Linked DNA regions of Homo sapiens: region 1 is linked to region 2. Evidence: promoter capture Hi-C in human tissues and cell types (Jung and others, 2019). All regions are on one chromosome and are shown on one strand. The core of a region is centred on a gene start or on the middle of the fragment in contact, and the rest is flanking DNA. Distances in the headings are between cores, read along the strand shown. Region 1 holds the start of NUP133 (nucleoporin 133). Region 2 holds the start of RHOU (ras homolog family member U).

The links. The method cuts DNA at HindIII sites, captures the fragments that hold promoters and counts their contacts. A contact is called where the count stands out against the background at its distance.
Region 1: a contact is called between the fragment with the promoter of NUP133 here and the fragment with the promoter of RHOU in region 2, in 1 of the 25 tissues and cell types used here (small bowel).

Annotation. Positions count from the first base shown.
Region 1 is chr1:229,506,934-229,510,496 of GRCh38, forward strand. NUP133 (nucleoporin 133) reads right to left here and starts at 1,408. Exons shown (of 26, transcript NM_018230.3): 1 at 1,135-1,408. The coding sequence starts at 1,316. NUP133-DT (NUP133 divergent transcript) reads left to right here and starts at 1,497. Exons shown (of 3, transcript NR_110630.1): 1 at 1,497-1,746; 2 at 3,191-3,307. RefSeq lists silencers at 1,099-1,328, 2,269-2,563 and an enhancer at 1,379-1,498. The HindIII fragment of the contact is 14,911 bases long and covers 1-3,563 here.
Region 2 is chr1:228,733,587-228,736,968 of GRCh38, forward strand. RHOU (ras homolog family member U) reads left to right here and starts at 1,893. Exons shown (of 3, transcript NM_021205.6): 1 at 1,893-2,418. The coding sequence starts at 2,157. The HindIII fragment of the contact is 9,114 bases long and covers 1-3,382 here.

The DNA of each region.
Region 1 (3,563 bases), core at 158-2,657, 770 kb after region 2:
TATTTCTTGCTCACCCTCTTAACATTTAGAATATTGTAAAGTCACCAGAATAAAAGGTAGTCTATGTCTTATCACGAGAATTAAATGAGAAGATGCACATACAGAAGGGCTAAGGGCTTTGTTTCCTGACAGAGGATAACAAAGGTTTTTCTTCAAATGATCACAAGAAGAGATTTAAATAAAACAACACACAGTAAATAAAGTATGCTTTTATTCTCCAACTTTTCGCAAAAGGAATAGAAAACACTGACAAGATCAGCACTTTGAAAAGAACTTTTCAAAATATGCCAAAAAAAGTCAAAGATACAGTGTATTCTTTCAAAACCACTTCTCCTTTAAAGTACTGAAAAATTTTACAGATAAATTTTAACCATAATTTCAAGACACAATACTTTGTGTTTCCTGCAGGGAAAAATTCATTTTTTATAGATGAATTCAGAGAAAACTATGCAGAAACACTAAAGTTTTAGGTTAATTATGAACATGGTGTGTGTTGGGGGTGGGGAGGGGTGTGTGTGTGTGATGATTTTACTGGTGCTCCAAACGAGCAGTTTTAGTAACTAAACTATCACAGTACTCTTAGCTCACTTATGTAAAGCCTTTTCCTTATAATTTACCTAGAAAGTTAAATTCCGTAGCTAGAAACCCTTTAATTACCAATCATCAGATATTAATGTCAGTTGGTATGTTAGGCATTAAACAATGATCTTTCAGGGTTGTAGGTCCTCATTATCACCATCACCTTACATCTGCATCGTGGCAATTCATAATAACTCCTCTGGCTCAGGTGAGATATATTATCGCCATTTCACAGATGAAGAAAATCACGAGTGACTTACACCAGATCACACGGGTAGTAGGTGGGAAGTAGGTAAACACTGATGCAAATCCAGTTTGTACTTCACTTCTGCACAAAGGTATCCATGAAAAATGCAAAGTGGGGAATCAACTGATCAACTGATAATCAAAACGAAGCAGATACTACCTGCAGCAGTGGAAAAGGTCTATTTTCCAATACTGTGGCATTCTATTCCGCCGCCCCGGTTCCAAAGGCTTCTAAAGACAACAACCTATCCGGCCCACTGCGGCCCGTGAGGCTGTTGGTTGCCAGACCCAACCAGGGAGATCACTTACCGCGAGCTTAGCGAGCTACGCCGGCCGACCGGCGAGAAGAGCACTGGGGAGCTGACTGCAGACCCCAGGGGCAGACCCTTCCTGCTAGCCGTCCGGGGCGTGGAGCCGGGCCCGAGTCCGGCCAGCGGGCCCCTTCGGGACCCGGTACCCGGGGTCCGCGGAGAAGGGGCGGCTGGGAACATGACTCCAAGGAGCAGCGACTAGGACAGCGAGGGATCTGGCCGTCAGGTTGCAGCCTGGCCTGCGCGCGGAACTTAAACACCTAAGGGAAGAGATGGCGCGCGATGATGACGTCAAACGCAATGGCTCCCGCGGGTTGTGGTCGGAGCGCTGGCGGGGGCGGGATCGTGACGTTAAGGGCGGTGCCCAGTCAGCGAGGTAGGTCGGGAAGGCAGCCGGCGGCCCCAGATCTAGAACCGCTGCAGTGCCGAGCTTCCAGGGACGTGAAGCCGGAAAGCCAGGCGCCCTTCTTGACTGCGCCTAGGTGGAACTGGCCCTCCAGCAGCTTGAACGTAGCCTCTTTTCACACTGGTAGTTCCTGAACCTCTTGTGAAATGAAAGATGTTCCTCATTCCAAGCTGAGGACGGAGAAAAGCCGTAAAGCTGACACTGGTATCGCACTGTGATATTTGTTGTTTTCTAGGTTTGCCATTTTCCCATTCAACTTTGCGCAGTCTCATCCACGCTGATGACGCCACAAATCCGTGTCTCTAACCTGGATCCAGCTCAAAACCCCCAGACCCCTATCATTCAGCTCCCTAGGGGACAATTTCAGCTGGAAGTCCTGCGAACTCCTCACAATCCACTTATGAAAAGCGCATTCATGTTTTCCTTTAGGACCCCTCTCCTACCACCATCTCTGTTCCAGCTTGGTAAAACTGGCCAGTTGTCCAAGGCAAAGAGAAGAGCTCTATCTGCAGTCATCCCTCACACCTACCTCCACCCTAAGATCATGGTATACGTTGTAAGGTCCTACGTGTCTGTACTAGATCACACATTTGCACTGCCTCTGCCCTGGTTCTGGTACTTACCTTTCCCTCAACCACTGCGTAGCCTCTTCTGCCAGCGGGAGGGAGTAGGGGAGATGGGGAGAGGGTTCCTTACCTGTGTCTAGTCTTCCTCCACTCTATCTTCTCACTGCCAACACAATGAATTAAGGCAAACGTAATGCTGCTCTTGGGCCTGTAAATGCTTCAGTGGCTGACCATTGCCAGTAGGTTATTTGCTAAGCTCCTTTGCAAGGTCCTATGTGATCTAAGTCAGGTTGGCTTTTCCGTCCGTGTTGTACTTCCAGCACTTCCCACTTGCACTCCACATTCCGAGAACTTAAAAACCCAAATCTCCCTCCAGTGCCCATGTCCATGTTTCTCTCACCTGGAATGCACTCCCTGCCTTGTTGGTCCAGAAGGCGCCTACCTTCCGCATCAAGTTAGTTCTGTGCTGCCTTCTCAGTGAAACCTTCCACAGGATTAGGTCCCCCTTATCCTTTGTCCTCTCTGCTCCTGTGTGTAGACTGTATTTTTATCCTGCATAATAGTTTGTTTTCATAATTGTCTGTCAAGTACTTCCTTTTAAATGTCTTGACAGCAAGAGCAGTGACTTTGTTACCTTTGTGGCACACAGTAACAGACACATAGTAGACTTTCATTCAACGTGTGTTGAAATAAGGGAATGGTTAAGTAAACATTGACGTATTCACATGTGGGAGACCACAGTGTGGGTGTCAGTTGTTGACATTCCCCTGGGAAGCCAGTCATCTATCTATGCACCAGTGGCATCTGAGCAGTCATCTTGCCAAGGTTACATAGGCTAGCTGCTTTACTCCTTCTCCCACCTGGGTGTCTAACCCAACTTGGCAGCTTGTTGAGTCTTATAGCTCTGAGAGCCCAGTGCATTTCCTCCCTGTTTCATTCTTACAAGGAGGGGTGTGAAATAGGCAATAGAGAGTATTAATAGTTGTGTCTGAGAGGATTGGTGGGATCAATTTTATTCTTGTGCTTTGTTGGACTGGTTAGTGGTTTCCCCAGCATCCTAATGTAAAAGCTGTTGTTTGCAGGAGCTAGAATGACTTGTCAGCCACCTTTGAGCAAGAACTTGCCTGGAGTCCAAATGTATGGCTATTGAAGGATAGTAAGCAGACAGCACTAAAAGTCATCCATTCGTTATGGATTTAGTGAGTACCTACCATGTGCCAGGCTATGTGATAATTGCTAAGGCTTATAACTAAACAAAGCCCATGGGTCCTACCCTCATGGAGATTACAGACCAATGAGAAAGACAGACACTGAAAAAATGAACACAAATATCCAGCTACAAGCTGAGATGTGTACTATGAAATAAAAGAGCAAAGTGTATGAGAGAGAATCACTGGGGCTACCTATTTTTGCATGGAGGTCTATAAAGGTCTCTGGGAGAAAAGGACGTTTAAC
Region 2 (3,382 bases), core at 643-3,142:
GTGAGCCACCGCACCAGCCGATATTAGGTGCTTTATGATGGAAAGAATTGCCAGACTAGCTTCCAGCTCTGCCCATCTCAAGCTCTGCTACTCTTGCTACTGGAACCCTTCTAGTGTTGGGGAAAGTAAGACAGTTAAGGGCACCAATGTGACTCTCACAGAGGGTCATAGGTATGTCAGTGGTAGCCATTCCTATACCTGGATGGCTAGCAACAACATATCTACATAGGAGAACTGTAAACCACATAAATATATCCTGTCATCACAGCCAGGGCGAGGGAGAGGCAAGTCAGGTACCTGAGGCTCAAAACTTAACATTGGCACTTGCCTGACCCTGAGAGTAAGGGCCCTCTAAATTTGTTGTTTTTTGATATTGCCTCTGAATGCTCAATTTGTCATAAATTTTGCATCCTTGACATCCCCCTTATCTCACCTTCATCCTGATTCTGTATCCCATTACACCCAAACAACCTGTTTGGGTCTCCCCAACTTCACTTTCTTTGGCTGATCCCCAAAATCTTCATGGCCTCTTCAAAGTCACTCAATATGAGGGTAAGTTACAGTTTAAAAAGACAGTGAACATAACTGGTGGTGATTAAAATACTTTTTTTTTTTTCAAAATTTACAGAAACATATTACCACGTGTACACATTGCTAGGTCTTCCAATGTGAAAGTGTCCTTTGCAAGTCAGGGGTCCTGGATTCAAGCTTCTAACTTCTTGATAAATCCATCTCTGCATTCTGACCATGGCCATACGTTCAAGATTACGTTTATCATACTGACTTATTTTTGCCTCCAGGATTTTGGTTAGAAGCTCAGGCTCTGGGGCTAGACTATTTGGGTTTGGATCCTGGCATTGCCACTTACTAGCTTGTGGAATCCCAAAACGTTACTTAATATCTCTGTGCCTCAGGTGTTCTCATCTGTAAGTAATGTTAAGATTAAAAGAATTAGTTCTTGAAGAGTGCTTACAACAGTATCTGACACATTATGAAAGTTCAGTATTTGTTATTGTTATTTTTACTACCACTAGTATCAATGTGTATTAATAATATGTGGCCCTTCTCACACCACGCTGTACACCCCCAGGACTCTTGGTATTCTGACTTGGCTAAGAGGCGTCCTTTTTCTGAATAGACTGTTGACCACATGTAGAAGGAAGGCAGAGAGAGAAATGAATCAAAGGGAAACGGAATATTTTTTCAGACATATTAATGTCTCCGAATTACCTTTAAGTAAATGAAGGAATTGGGGGTATAAAAAAATTTCTGGAGCATACATGTATAAAGGTTCACGGCATGCCGAAAGACAAAGTCAAAGGAGCATTCACAATGGAGCTGGCATCCTTTTGCTTCAAAATGAGAAAAAATCACACGATCAGCTGCAGTTAGACTTAAGGAAAAAAGCTGTCTGTTAATTCAATCTCATTCGCAGGACAGGCCTCCAGGACACTTCATTTTTCCCCCTGGGTGGAGCCGTGGCCAGCCGGGGGCTCCACGGAGTGAATAGGAGGCGGCTCAGGCTTCCTGGCTCGCGTGGGCGCCAGAAAGCGGAACCTCCCGGGCCAGTCGCGCGGTGGTCACCCTCTTGGGAGCTGGGGAGGAGGCTGCGGAGGCTGGCCCGGCTCCTTCGGGCGTCGCTTCCCGGACCGGGTGCGCGGGGTCCCCCGGAACGTGTGTTCCAGGTCCTCCCGCGCCAGTGTTCGCAGTCCCCGCCTGGTCGCGGCGGCGCCTCGGGCGCGGGTGCAGGCGCGCGGCGCGCAGGCGGGGGGCGCTGTGGTCTTGGCGCGGGGACCGAGCCGCTCGGCCAGACCCGCCTCTTTTCCCTCCCCGCCAGCCCGCCCGCCTGCCCGCCCCCCACGCGTCGTGTCGCCGGGAAGCCGGGCGGAGACAGAGCGCTTGGGATCCACGGCGCTCGGACCGCTGTCCTCCAACAGCGCAGGGCAGAGCGGCTGGCGCCGCCGGAGCGCGGAGCCACGACCCTCCCTGGCCGCCTTTGTCTACTGGCCGTGCGGCCCGGAACCGCCACTCTCCAGGGCCGGGGACGCGCCCGCAGCTGTCGGTGACAGCTCCTCCCTACCGCAACCCTCCGGGGCGGAGGGGCGGTCGGGCCGGGCCCTGCTAGCCCGCGACCGCAAGCCCGCGCTCGCGGATCGATGCCCCCGCAGCAGGGGGACCCCGCGTTCCCCGACCGCTGCGAGGCGCCTCCGGTGCCGCCGCGTCGGGAGCGCGGTGGACGCGGGGGACGCGGGCCTGGGGAGCCGGGGGGCCGGGGGCGTGCGGGGGGTGCCGAGGGGCGCGGCGTCAAGTGCGTGCTGGTCGGCGACGGCGCGGTGGGCAAGACGAGCCTGGTGGTGAGCTACACCACCAACGGCTACCCCACCGAGTACATCCCTACTGCCTTCGACAACTTCTCCGGTGAGCTGGCCGGGGGGCCGGGGCCGGGGGCGCGTGGCCGCGGTCCACCCAGGGGAAGGAAGGTGGCGCGAGGGTCGCGAGGTTCCCAAGGGGGCTGCAGGGCCCCGGGCGCGGCTCCAGCTGGGAAGCCGGACAAATGAGGAGTGCAGGACGTTTCCTGAGTCTCAGGGACCGGGCAAGCGCGGAGCTAACACGAAAGGACCACGGCGGAGTGGGCTTGGAGAGAGGAGGGCGGAGCGGCAGTCAGAGCCTTGCCAAAAAAAAAAAAAAAAAAAATCTCACAATTTAAGCAACAGATAAGTAGGAGTGAAACAGGTTGAGTTCAGGGTGCCCGGTCAGTTTGTTGCATAGAGCAAAGTTTCCTGAGGGCGACGTCGCTGGCGCCGCTGCAGAGTTTCAATCAGAAGGTGACGCGCAGGTGCCTTTACCTGAGCGTCGCTCCTTTGCTTTTAGGCGGCTCAGCTCACAAGGGGCGTCTCCGCTTTAAAGAGCCGCGGAGACGCCGGGAAAACACTTGATTTAGTGAAAAAGCGCGAGCGGCCCTCGTGAAGGCTTAGGTTTGGATGAAACCTGAAGAGTAAACACCATTTCTTTCTTCTGAGCCCCACCACCTTCCCTGCCCACATGGGCTCGGATTCTGATTGTTGGTATCTTTTCAGGATCCCTTTAAGCTACTTAAAGCTCCTATGTACCGGGTGCGATGCCATTTCCCTTGGTAGATACAAAGAGAAAGGAATTCTCTATCTTGCTATTCAGGTCTTTTTGAAATTTAAGAAAAAGTTAAAATTCACAGAAACTAGTATGAAACACTTAACTGTCTTGCTTCTTTAAAAAAAAATTGCTTCTCTGACCTTCCTTTCATCCCAAAGGTACCTTAGAGAAATGGGTGCTGTACTGGTGGGTTCCCACCGCAGGGTATTGTTTCTTCCCCTCCCCCCACCCCACCCCTGCAGCTGACTAGTAT